Linked DNA regions of Homo sapiens: regions 1 and 2 are each linked to region 3. The links are contacts of gene promoters, found by promoter capture Hi-C in blood cells and fetal thymus (Javierre and others, 2016). All regions are on one chromosome and are shown on one strand. The core of a region is centred on a gene start or on the middle of the fragment in contact, and the rest is flanking DNA. Distances in the headings are between cores, read along the strand shown.

Region 1 (4,374 bases), core at 775-3,274, 1.2 Mb after region 3:
GAGCCACTGCGCCCGGCCTCTATTTCATTTTCTACTACAACTCCTGACCCACTAAACTGATTTAACAATCCACTAATTTGTTAAACCTGGAGTTTGAAAACACTGCTCTTCAGGATTTAGCATAGTGCTCTTCACGTACTCTGTAAATGTGCTGAATACGTCAACTTAACTCTCCAATTCTTCATTTGGTCTTGGCAATTATTATTATTCATCCCATAAAGCCAACAGTTAAAAGATTTTTACAAAAGTAACCACTGTTCATAAAGAAAACCTAAATGTTAGTATTCTGAGTAATCTTTTCTTCAGCTATTGGGTTTATCTGAAATGTGCTTACGTGACAGCCTGGGGGCGAACCACAACTCCACCAGTACAACGACTGGGTCTTCTTGGGGAATCTGTAGCCATAGCTTCATTCATAAAACCTGTTTCCAGAACAAACAAACAAACAAAAAACAGAAAAACATGGATCGTTGTTGGGGGTAGGGAGGAAGATTTATGATTACTCACTAGAGATCCCTTGTCAAAAATGCCTCAAATGTAGGAAACTTTCCCAGAAATTCCTGTTACACCAGAAAGGGAAAAAAGGAGGAAGTAGGTTTTTAATTTTTTTCAAATTATAATGAGGGGTTTGGGGGGTTATTATTATTTTTGAGATAGAGTCTCGCTCTGTCGCCCAGGCTGGAGTTCAGTGGCACGATCTCTGCTCATGGCAATCTCCGCCTCCCAGGCTCAAGCAATTCTCCTGCCTCAGCCTCCTGAGTAGCTGGGATTACAGGCGAGCGCCACCATGCCGAGCTAAATTTTATATTTTTTTGTAGCGACGGGGTTTCACCATGTTGCCAAGGCTGGTCTCGAACTCCTGAGCTCAAGCAATCCATCCGCCTTAGCCTCCCAAAGTGCTGGGATTATAGGCTTGAGCCACCGCGCCCATCCTGTTTTGTTTTTTAATAGGACCAGGTCTCAGAACCACAAAACAATGTAAGGAAGACTCCTGCTGTACCCCTTGGTCTGTTGTTAACATAAATTACAAGGGTGAGAGAACCAGATCATGGGATGGGAATTTACTGCAATTTTATGTTGAGATAGTGAAAATACACATGGTACAATATTTCAAGACCAAACGGAACAAGTGACATGATATCACTCTACCTTCCAATTAAACCTGTTGGGAATCTATGAGTAAATCACAATTTAAATCACATTCGTAACCCCCTGCTACTATAACAAATAAGTCAAGTAATTATTTGACTAGTAGCAAGTAGTCAAATAACTAACATAAACTAATACGTTGTTACAGCCCTTTACCCTTTCCCGTCACATCAGTAAATCCTGATCCTAGAATGTTTCATGACCCTCTGAATCACTGAGATTTTAAGAGCATGGAGTCGGCTTGGTTAAGGTTAAAAGAGGACTGACAGCAATATCAAAGATCTCTTACAGGGCTCAGGGAAGCCCACAACCTGGAACTCATCTTGAAGGCACCGAAAACCATTTTTAAGTAGGGAGCATTCACACCTGATGTGAAAACTCTAAACCTGTGCGCCCCACCTCCTACAACCAAAACACCCTCTGCCCCAAGGAGCAGAGCCACCACCTCCTCAGAGGATACCTGCACCTCCAGCCCCTCAGCCCTCTCATTCTCATCCCATTCTTGCTTTCTCGAACCACAGTCTCCCAAGCCCTGCCCTTTAAGGGCCCTGTCTCCTGGGGACGACCCTCGCCAGCCACTCAGGCCCCAGTCTCCTGAAAGACACTCGTACGGCGCTGCCCACTTAACCTCCAACACGGAGCCACCGCTGCCCCCGGCCGCCCTCCGGCCCCTTGCACTGTTCCCCTCCCCCTCCAGTATCGACACCTCTCTCCTGTCGAATTCCTGCCAGCCCGACCCAGTCCCCTCACGCCGCCAGTCCCTCGTCCTCCCCAAGCCTCCCCAAAGCCAAAGCCCTGCCAGCCCTCTCACCGGCCGCCCCGCCGGTTAACGCTAGTCTCCAGCTCTAGGCTCACTGTTTGGAGTCTCCCCGAGTGATTGACGGCAGCCACTTCCTACCACGCCTCAGCGGAACCACCCCCTCTAGCCAATCCCAGAAGCAAACCGGCTATGGCCGGGCACCGCCCTTGGAGGTCAGCTTCGCCAACCAGCAAGTAGGAAAGAGGCGGACCCGCCTTCTGAATGTGTCCAATCCGCTGGGGCTGGAGGGAAAACACAACAGCATGTAAGTTCGGGTGAAGCCGAGGTGTCAGGTTCGGTTGCAAACGCAGGCAGCTGGGGAATAATTACGAACATGTACATTTTTTTTGGAAGACAGAACCTTCGTGGCTTTGAAAAGAAAAGCAACATGATCCAGACTCCTGTCCCGCTCACGTGAGCGTTTCAGGTTGGAGCCGGAGGACAGGGAGACTGGTCTGTTTACATCGAATTCTCGCGACAGCTGGTTCCAAGCTCGGAGCACGTGGACATGGCAGCTGCCAATCACTTTTAGCTGGCCACTCACCCGTCCCACACCCGCCTTCTGCCCAGCCCTTGGCGATGTGTTTACCTTCCGGGAGCCTAGGCTGGCTCGCGCCGGCGATCAGCCGAGGAGGGGTTGATCTGAATAAGGGGCACGGCCGGTAATCTCAACAATTTGAGCTAGGTTTGTAGACCACTTCTTGCTTCAGTTTCCATCTCCCTTATTGTTGAAGATCGAGATCTCGCCATTGTCATTTCATCAGTTCATTTATTAATATAAGTAGAATAATACTGACTGACTTCTTGAACACTCAGCACAGGCCTTCGTATACTTCATATACAATACTCTAATGTATTATCAAATTTAATGCCAATGACAGGTCCGTGAGGGTATAGCTTATTAACAGGCGTGGTGGGCTGGGCGTGGTGGCTCACGCCTGCAATCCCAACATTTTGGGAAGCCTAGGCGGGAAGATCGCTTGAGGCCAGGAGTTCTAGAACAGCCTGGACAACATGAAGAAACCCCGTCTCTACTAAAAATAGCCAGGTGTGGTGGCCAATGCCTGTAATCCTAGCTACTGGGGAGGCTGAGGCGGAAGAATTGCTTGAACCCAGGAGGCGGAGATTGCAGTGAGCCTATAGATCACGCCATTGCCCTCCAGCACTTTAGCCTGGGTGACAGAGAGTCCCTCTCAAGACAGATAGATAGATAGATAGATAGATAGATAGATAGATAGATAGATACATACATACATACATACATACATACATACATACATACATACATAAAATTTTAAAAAATTTTAAAAAAAGAAATGAAAGAAAAGGCCGGGCACGGTGGCTCACACCTGTAATCCCAGCACTTTGGGAGGCTGAGAGGGGCAGATCACTTGAGGTCAGGAGGTCAAGACCAGCCTTGCCAACTTTGTGAAACTCTGTCTCTACTAAAAATACAAAAATCAGCGGGTTTTGATGGTGCACGCCTGTAATCCCAACTACTCAGGAGGCTGAGGCAGGAGAATCGCTTGAATCCGAGATGTGAAGGTTGCAGTGAGCCGAGATCGTGCAACTGCACTCCAGCCTCTGGGCGACAGAGCAAAACTCTCGCTCAAAAAAAAAAAAAGAAGAAGAAGAAGAAGAAGAATATATTTGGAAATATTGAAATAACTTGATAATGTGGGATTGAAATAACTTGATAATGTGGAATTGTAACATTGAAAAGGAGGCCTAGCATGACTAACTCCATTTTGCTCCTAAACTCCCCACTCCCACCCATCGGTGATATCTAAGTTAACTGCTTTTGCTTATCTCTGCACATAGACTAAGCTAACCAAGGGAGGAATTTATAGTTTAACTTTAAAGCAAGGATGATAATAGTCCCTTCCCAAAACTAACCCCCAAGGAGAAAAGGAGGGTGTACACACAAGTAACAATGTTGAGAGTTTGAGAAAGTATTGTGACCTGACCAGTAACAGAGAGGCTTCAGGCCTCGAGGAACCCTTGCTGGCGCCCAGATGTCTACGGTCATCAGTCACCCCTTGATTCAAACCCTCTCTTCTTCCCCCTGCCCTTAACACAAAAAGAGCCTGAAATGTGTACTAACTTAAGATGGTTCTTCAGGCTGGGTGTGATGGCTCACACCTCTCATCCCAGCACTTTGGGAGGCCGAAATAGGTGGATCACCTGAGATCAGGAGTTCAAGACCAGACTGACCAACATGGAGAAACCCCGTCTCTACTAAAAATACAAAAATTAGCTGGACGTGGTGGTGTGCGCCTGTAGTCCCAGCTACTCGGGAGGCTGGGACAGGAGAATCACTTAAACCCGGGAGGTGGAGGTTGCAGTGAGCCAAGATCAAGGCACTGCACTCCAGCCTGGGCGACAGAGCAAGACTCCAACTTTTTTTTTTTTTTGAGATGGAGTCT
Region 2 (4,246 bases), core at 824-3,323, 1.3 Mb after region 3:
TTGCCCTGCAGTCAATGATATCACATATTTCTACAATACACTACAGTGCTTTCAGCTCTACGGTGCCTACACAAAAACAAAATAAATCCATAAAGAGGGGCCCCTGGGATGGATGGGAAACGCCTCCAACAAGCCTAGTGGCTGGTTTTTGAGTCAATCAACTAACTCTTGGCAGAAAGCCAAGCAAATGGAAAACAGACTTTGAAACCGGCTAATCTACAACTCTATGACAATACCTTTCTAAAAATGTTCTGTATTTGCTAAATCTAACTCTTTTCTCTATGTCTCTATCCCTCTGCTGAAAATAAAGCAACGTTATTATGCTGCCATAAACAAGGTTTTTTCCCACCACTGGAAGTATTGTCTTCTTTGCTCTAACAAAGATGCATGCCATTTATTCACTGCAATAGATAAGCAATTATAATGCTGTAAGATGATTCTGTAAATGTTGGGCACAGAAATCCTGCCTGCTTTACAAACATTTAAAAAAACTTAGATGAAACTACAACTACACCGAAATTTTTAGACATTTAAGACCTTTATTTCCTTCTAGCATACAGTAATTCCTTGCCTTTTCTTATTTTGATGGGCAGTTACAATTTATAAGTACTTTTTAAACTAGGAACAACCGGTTGGGAACTATCTGAAAGCAATCAGCTAAGGCAATTTCCAAAAAGAAAACCCAAGCAGAATCTAACGCACACCCTTAACACGGGGCCAGTTTTTAAGAGGTAACAACACGTTCCGCGTTTTTAGTTTTCATAAGCAGTACAGGTTTATGATCCTAAAAACATCTCACCATCATTACAACGGAATTCCTTCCAAAACTTTAAGTTGCCGGATGGTTACGTTTCAGCCCTTCTAAATTAGCTTACGCTTTACTCCAGCAACCAACCCCAGCAATCCCGGGTCAATCTGGAGAACTGACACCACCGGTAGGAGGCAACCGAGAGGGATAAGACTTTCAGGAGCAGAATTATGACAGATTCTCTAAGGAAACACTACAGTTTTTCCTTCGCCTGGCCCAGGTGCAACATCGATTTATCTTTTGGCCAAAATCTGGCGCCAGGTTTCAAACACGTTTCCTCTGGTTGCCACCAAAGTGAAGCAGGGAAGGGAGTGGACTGCTTCCCATTGATCCTTGGAGGATGGAAATAAAGCAAGAATAGGCTGCAGGGAGACGGCAATCCTATCTTCCCCAAGGCCGCTTGGTTTGCCCGGACCTCCACCCAGCAAAGCGCTATTACAGCTTTTAGTCACTTCCATCAGTGTATACTTTGGTTGCGCTCTGGGTGCCGGGGGCCCACGCGGGGCTGGTGCCATAAAAGCCCTGAACTGCCTGAAAAAGGGGCGGGCGCCAAACAAGCCAGGGAACTTACCCAGTTTCTTCCACATGGCAAGGTGACAAGCGAGAAAGCCTTTGCGGATGGCAGCGCAAACCTTAGCCGGCTCGGACGAGGTGAAACCCTTCTGCTTCTTGATGAAACCCCACAAGTGCTCCCGGGCAAACTGTGCCGCCTCCCGCCCGCCGTGCCCGTCGCACACGGCGAAAAAGGCCACGGAGGAACGGCGGCGGCAGCAGCGGCTAGGTGCCGGCGAGGCCCCGGCGTCCGGGAGAGGGTCGCGAGCCTCTCGGGCTGCCACCGCTGGGCCTTTCCCCGAGACTTCGCCGCCGGGAAGGGCGGCCGGCGACGGCCGCGGAGGCAACGGCTGAGACAGCGACCGCCGCGGCGAGGGCTTTTCTTCAGCCGTCGGTTCGGGCTCCACAACGATTTGAGTAACGTCCTCCATGTACTTCCTCCCGCCCTGGTCGGAGAAGACGCTCACTCCCAGCGAGTACAGCCCCGCCATGGCCGGCTGGCCGGGATCCCGCCGGTCCCACGCAGCCCGCCGAATCCGGCGGCGGGAGACACACTAGGCGCTCGCCGGCCAACTATTGTTTATCTTCGACGACGCCGAGAAGGGGGAGGGGGCGGACCCGGAGAAGGGGGGGCGCGCGATGTCTGGACTTGTCCGCGAGAGCTGGGCCGGAGCGCCGGAGCGAGCAGAGCCAGGCAGTTGCGCCTGCGCACTGCGCTTCCCCCCACCGCCCGCGCCCACCACACAAATCAGGCGTTCTCCCCCGCTGACGTCACTCGGCTCTCTAAGCTCGACCAATCCGGAGTCGAGTGGAGCGAGCCCGCCCTCCGTCCCCGCCTTCGCTCCCGCCTGCGACGGCCGCGCTGCCTCCTCCCGCCGCTGGCGCTGGGCCCGCGCATCTCCTAGTTTGCTTCCCCTACGCCGCGGGCGTTTTCGCCCTCCGGGTTGTCGGCAGTTGTTGATCCTTTCCCGAGCGGCTTGGTCTGTGTAGGCTTTTGGCTCAGTCCAGCGTTCTTAATGCGGCCTGCTGGCCTTGGCGTCCCGCTGCTTGCTTTGCTAGGAAGGTGGTGTGGGCTCGGGCCCCCAGCGAGTGGAGAATGAAGGGAGAAGAGTTCACCCTCCTCCTAAGCGAAATGGCGGGAAACCTCCCTTCCAAAGGGCGATTGTGAGCTGGCCGGAACAAGTGCTGCACCCTTGAGCTGGATCTGGGTGGGACGTATTCGACTGGGAATGGAGGAGGGAGGGAGTCCAGTTCTGTTGTTTAAAAAGCACTTAGGAAATTTCCACCGTCAGCTGCACAGTCTCGGTTCACATAACTAGGTATGTCAGAGACGTAAGAGGGCTGTATTCTAACGAATTCCTAGGCAGATCTTTTCAGCTTTTGTTAAAGGTAGTGCTCGTTCCGACCAGCTCTGGATACAGCATTTTATTCCTGCGGTATCACTTCAAGTTATCACTTGAAAATAACTGACAAACACTGCCAAGAGCCCCAGTGCTCTAACGGTTTGGTGATCGTCCCCTCTCTTCACCGAGTCGGTCACAATCCCAACGCTAAAACCTTTGCACGGATTTTCATGGAGTTAAGCCGCAGAGCGAGGAATACACTAGTATTTGCTCAGTAGCATACGTTTTGTAGTTGAATCACTTTAAAGTTCACTTTTCCCGTTTTTGGCCATTTCTTCATCAATCTGTACTTTCCTGTAAAACCTTTGAGATTTTCAAATGGCCTAAAAACAGTATGGAAACGGGAATGGGGGGAATGTACATACAGTTGGCACAAGAAATAAAAATAGAAAAAATCTTTATATCAATAAAAATATAAATAAGCAAAATCAGCTCAAGAAAATGTAGAAAATCTGAATAGATCAACTAAGTAAAAATAAATACAATTGAAGATATTCATTACCCCAAAAAGCACTAGACCAGATGGTTCCAGGGCATGGAAACGCTTGAAAAAAAAAATCCCAGCTTGTTTGGAGAGGTAATCATAACCCTGTTAGTAAAACCTAAGCATTATGAACACTAAAAGGAAACCTACAGACCCTGTTTTGTAACGATGAATACAAAAATCCTAAATGAAATATTAGCATTGTAATTAGGGAGCAGCCTCCATATCACAAGAACGGTTTGTGTAGCTCTATATTATTCATCTTACCGTTCACCACGTTTGACCCAAGAGATTACCAAAAGATAATTCCATCATGCTTTATAATCCTTTCCACCTCAATCACAACCAGTAGGATCTGCGTCATCCGTTTATTGCTCTAGTATCTCCATGCTACTCTCTGCTTCAATTACTCTGATTCCATATCCCACTCTTCACCAAATATCCTAACCATTTCACTTCACACTTTTGATTTCAACATCTGCCATCAACCACTTCCCCTTTATTCTTAGCCTCTTCTGTAAATGTTCCCATCAACTTCCCATTCCAACTGAAACCCGGTTTATCACTTAGCAAAACTACCTCCCTTGCAACTTTTCAAGTACAGGAGGTTATTTTTCCTCTCATAGGTATTCTTATCTGTGGCCTATTCCTCATATTACCTCCAAACCACTTCTCTTCCTTCCTCCCTCAGAAACTCAAGTGCTTTTAAAATTTATGCAGACTGCTGCTACTCTGAGATGCTGTCAGCTACTGATCCCTGGTATCTCCCCATCATTTTTCATAGCCCACCGTCTTTGTTTCTTCCACTATTCGTGTCACTTCTCATCCACTTTATTTTTCAAGATACTATCCATATCTTCCATACTGTCTCCTTTTCAAGAGTTTTACTGCTCCAACAATTATCCTCCTTGCTCCTGCCTCATCAATCTCTCCTTTCTCTCTGTCTTTCTAAATGTTAAAGACGGGGTCTATGATGCCCAGGCTGGGGTGCAGTGATTA
Region 3 (4,489 bases), core at 1,928-4,427:
TGAAGGTAGAGCAATAAAACCCACTGGATTAAAGAGCTCTTGGTTTGTCATCAGGATTATAATTCATATCTTACTTTGAGAAGATCTTTGAGTAAGAAAATGCAGTGTTTGAACCTGAGGAAAAGTTAAAGTGTAGAAAATATTGTCTTGCCGAAGGATTTTGCAGTCCTCTGTCAGTAACTTCCATTGATTAGGCAGACATATTCAGGTAAACCCTAATCATTAAAAAAAAATTATCAATGTAGAAAGTAATTCCCTTTTTTCTCTCTGAGATATACCTCAATCACACACTTCCCCACCCCCACTTGAAACAGACCTCTTCACTTGTGTTTTTTTTTTTTTTTTCCTGAGGTGGAGTCTTCCCCTGTTGCCCAGGCTGGAGTGCAGTGGGATGATCTTGGCTCACTGCAACTTCTGCCACCTGGGTTCAAGGGATTCTCGTGCCTCAACCTCCTGAGTAGCTGGGACTGCAGGCACGCGCCACCTGTATTTTTGTATTTTTAGTAAAGACGGGGGTTTGCCATGTTGCCCAGACTGGTTTTGAACTCCTGGCCTCAGGTGATCTGCCCACCTTGGCCTCCCAAAGTGCTGGGATTACAGGTGTGAGCCACCGCACCTGGCCAGACCGCTTCACTTGTAAAAGAAATTAGGCTAATAAGAAGGTGTAGTTTTTGAGAAATGAAATTTAACTTTAGCCTTTTCACTAGTAAATAGTCACATCTCATTTTCTTCCTTTGTAAAATGGGGTTACTACTGGCCCTACCTCATATTCTATGAGAATGAGTTTGTAGCTGTTTCAAATCATGAAGTGCATAGTATCACATGTGATAGAATATTTATAACTTTTTATTAGATGCTTAATGTTCAATTAAGTAATTTTGATGTGAAAAATAAAAGTAATAAAAGTATCTTAAAAATAGCATAAGAATTTTCATATTTTTAAACAAGGCAGTTTTGTAGTCCCTTAAGATTAAATACAACTGCTCCTTTTTTTTTTAAACTGAGGCCTTGCGATATTTTGTGTGAATAGATATGCCCTAGGAGTTCAGAAAAAGTTAAAAGTATGTTTTCTAATTAAATGCAGTGCACATTCCTGGATCAATATTCAAAGACTGGTCATAACCTGCTGTGTTAAAATAATCACATATGCTCTTTTTCATCAGATTTGTTGATGATGTAAATAAAATGTGTAAATATATTAGTAAATGTTAATATTCATGTATTTTAAGTTAAGGTTATAAAATTTGTCACAATGTGTTTTTTTATTCAAGTGAAAACAGATGTGTGCAGCTATTTTGAATATTGGTTTATAAACATTCATATTCTTTATCAAACGAACCTGTAGTTTTTGTGTTTCATTCCACTAGAGTTAACCTGAAGGGAACGGTTCAAGGGACTGTATTCGAGGTCTGTATGGCTCCAGGGCCTACGTGTATCCCTTTCTGTTATGCCACATACATTAAATGGCAATGCAAGGTGAGAGCCAGTTGAAACTCTTAGTAATTTAGGAGAGGAAAATGAGAGTAGTTATACTAGAGCAGTTACTCAAAAGAGTTGATTTTTTTTTTTTTTGAGACGGAGTCTCGCTCTGTCTCCCAGGCTGGAGTGCAGTGGCGCCATCTCGGCTCACTGCAAGCTCCGCCTCCTGGGTTCACGCCATTCTCCTGCCTCAGTCTCCCGAGTAGCTGGGACTACAGGCGCCCGCCACCACGCCCGGCTAATTTTTTGTATTTTTAGTAGAGACGGGGTTTCACCGTGTTAGCCAGGATGGTCTTGGTCTCCTGACCTGGTGATCCGCCTGCCTCGGCCTCCCAAAGTGCTGGGATTACAGGCGTGAGCCACTGCGCCCGGCCAAGAGTTGATGTTTTAAAAATTATAAAAGAGAAATGACAATTTGAAGGTATTTTTAAGGATTTATTTTTAAACATTATCCTTCCTTTCATTGTCTTAACAGTAAATTACTTCATCTTTGCTCATTCATATGTATTTTCACATTACTGAATCCCTAACACCCAGTTTGGGGTTTGCTTTGCCTTTTTTCACTTAACCTTATATGGGATTTTTTCTTGCAAGTTTAATTTTTATAAGTTTATTGGCTTCATAATGTATTGAATTCATCTGTCATAACCACCTCCATATTACTAGACTGGGAAGTTCATAATTTTTTTCAGTATTACCAATAGATATTATTGTCAATTGCGGTATCACATTTTCTTTCGTTTAGATTACGTCTTTAGGATAAATATCTGGAGCTCAGATTACTAGGTCAAAGGGTAGAGTTTATTTTTATGACTACAAGTTTTGTCATTTTTGGTAAGATATATCACAATTGACAATGAGGCAAACAAATCAACTAGCCCCCTCCTGCTCTTTCTTCCCAGCAAACTCCTTCCCCAAACTAGTTACTTGAATTTGAGAAACAGTATGAGGTTTTGCCTTTTGGAGACATTATTATTTGAGCCAAGTTTAGGTTATACAGATTTTTTAAAAAAATAACATGATTTGGCAAGATCATGATGAACCTCCTTTTCTTTGAGTAAATTAAAGTACTACTGGCAAATAATAAACTGGTCTTAGGAGGGATGGAAGGCGGATAAGCCTTAATGGAAGTAGAAGTGATCTGATACTGGAGACCCTGAGAGCTTGTCTCTGGCTTATTTTAGCATCCGGGAAAGCCTTGAATATTATGAAAGATAGATTGTAGCCCGATGTCACAGAGCCTTCTTACTTAAGTTTGGCTCAGCAGTCTGGCAATTCCCGCCTGAGTCTTCGCTATCCTGGCTACTGCAAAGCTGGGTAATTTAAATTGAGTGGCACTGATAAATGCTCAAAGAACTTGGCAAAGCTTAAAGATACTTCCTTTCCGCTGGTCTACGGACGTGAAGAATGAGACTTCCAGTTTCCAAGGAATTTGCTGCATAGACTCTATCGCCGGTTTCAAAAGTCAAACTGAGACGACTTTCTACTTTAAACAAACACTAGGGATTTGCTGGAGTGGCGACAACCTTCCGCCGCGTACCTTGAGCCCTTGTTTTTTTTTTTTTTTTTCGGAGACTTCCATTGGATGCCGAAGTTCTCGCCCCCTCACCTCGCACCGGGACTGGTTGATTCCTGGCCTTGGCGGGTGATTGGTCGAGCTCGCTGGGCTATTGGGCGCTGGGAGTCGAGGGGGCGGGAGGCGGGAATTCGTCTCGGGTTGTGTGGTTGAGGGGTCTGGTGGGTCGAGGAAAGGTAACGGCGGCCCCAGTCCTGCACACAAGGCCGGGGAAGTAGCAGCACCCCCAGGAAGAGGGAGGAGGAAGGGCTCGTGCCCTTTCTTCTCTTCCAGGGCTCCGCTTTATTTGCTCTCAGAAGTCGGTTTCCTTTCCTTTTCTTCAGTGAATCGGAGCTCAGAGCGTTGCTTCGGTTTCCCTCCAGACAGGCAAGTCGGAGGGAAGTCCACGGAAAGGGCTTGAGTTCTTCTGCACAGCCTGCGGGCCCATGGGTGGTGACTGGATCACCAGGGTCTCGGGGATCTCAACTGGCTGGGGGAGGAGGGAGATACGGGGCAGAAAACCTGAGGAGGGAGCCTATCCTTACCTCCTTTGAGCGCAGGCCTGTTCTTAGCCCGGGCGCTGCGTTAATTCTTGGCGGGAGGCAGAGGGGTGTGTTTATCCTTTATGCAATGTTTGGGGGAAGCTACCCCATTTTGACACTATTGTTGCCACAGCCGGGGTACAGGACGGGCTGATTTCTAGATTATATCTGAGTAACTAGGCCAGCGTTGAGTTGTTGATTCATATTAAGAGGTTAGATTCCACCATACCTCATTCTCAGAGCTTTACAGATAGAATCGCAAAATGTTAGAGCTGGAAAATACCCTAGAATAATGGTTCTTCTTTTGGAGCACACAAGCAGTGGTGAATGTTATTATTGGCTTCATAATCTATTGAATTGCTATTTTAACCATCTCTTCGTCCCCAGGTTGAATTTACAATTTTTTCCCACGACTGCAAATAATTCCTTATTTAATAACAGTGCATGTAATTTCCCCCGCTATTTTGATTTCCTTGAGATATATTTACGGGAAGAGAAATCTATGGACTTTTTCTTCAGAAAAATGCAATCATGTACAGAAACTTATGCTTGCAATTTCAAGAGGTCATTGTCTCTGAATTACATCCGTGGATCCTAGGTTAAGAAAAGTGGTTTAGAAGAGGTGAGGATTAAAGTGATCCTCATCTGTATCAGATCCTGGGTTAGGTACATTCTGCCCTGGCTAATTTTCATAAAAACCCTGTCAGGTAAGTAGTAGTATTTCAATTCCATATATGGAGAAACAAGCTCTGAGAAGTTAAGTGATTCACACAGTGGAATTCAAACTTAGGATTGCCTTACTCCAAAGCCCATCCTGTTTCTATAATACTCTACTGATCTTCAAATAACATTTTTGAGTGCCTACTATGTGCCAAGGCATTCTCTTTCTTATAACAGCCTTTAAATTAAATTA

Evidence for each region. Contacts are between HindIII fragments. The CHiCAGO score rates a contact against its expected background, and 5 or more counts as called.
Region 1: the fragment with the promoter of BCAS3 here is called in contact with the fragment with the promoter of BRIP1 in region 3 in 1 of 17 cell types (M0 macrophages); the score reaches 9.2 in M0 macrophages.
Region 2: the fragment with the promoter of PPM1D here is called in contact with the fragment with the promoter of BRIP1 in region 3 in 1 of 17 cell types (non-activated CD4 T cells); the score reaches 5.2 in non-activated CD4 T cells.

Annotation. Positions count from the first base shown.
Region 1 is chr17:60,675,501-60,679,874 of GRCh38, reverse strand. BCAS3 (BCAS3 microtubule associated cell migration factor) reads right to left here and starts at 2,024. Exons shown (of 24, transcript NM_017679.5): 1 at 1,961-2,024; 2 at 335-422. The coding sequence starts at 417. RefSeq lists enhancers at 1,983-2,132, 2,303-2,472 and a silencer at 1,891-2,644. The HindIII fragment of the contact is 12,302 bases long and covers 1-4,374 here.
Region 2 is chr17:60,598,020-60,602,265 of GRCh38, reverse strand. It overlaps PPM1D (protein phosphatase, Mg2+/Mn2+ dependent 1D), which reads right to left and starts at 2,073. Exons shown (of 6, transcript NM_003620.4): 1 at 1,380-2,073. The coding sequence starts at 1,851. RefSeq lists enhancers at 1,954-2,003, 1,164-2,151, 2,152-3,140. The HindIII fragment of the contact is 9,172 bases long and covers 1-4,246 here.
Region 3 is chr17:61,862,216-61,866,704 of GRCh38, reverse strand. BRIP1 (BRCA1 interacting DNA helicase 1) reads left to right here and starts at 3,177. Exons shown (of 20, transcript NM_032043.3): 1 at 3,177-3,421. It overlaps INTS2 (integrator complex subunit 2), which reads left to right. Exons shown (of 25, transcript NM_001351695.2): 25 at 1-1,338. The HindIII fragment of the contact is 2,381 bases long and covers 2,848-4,489 here.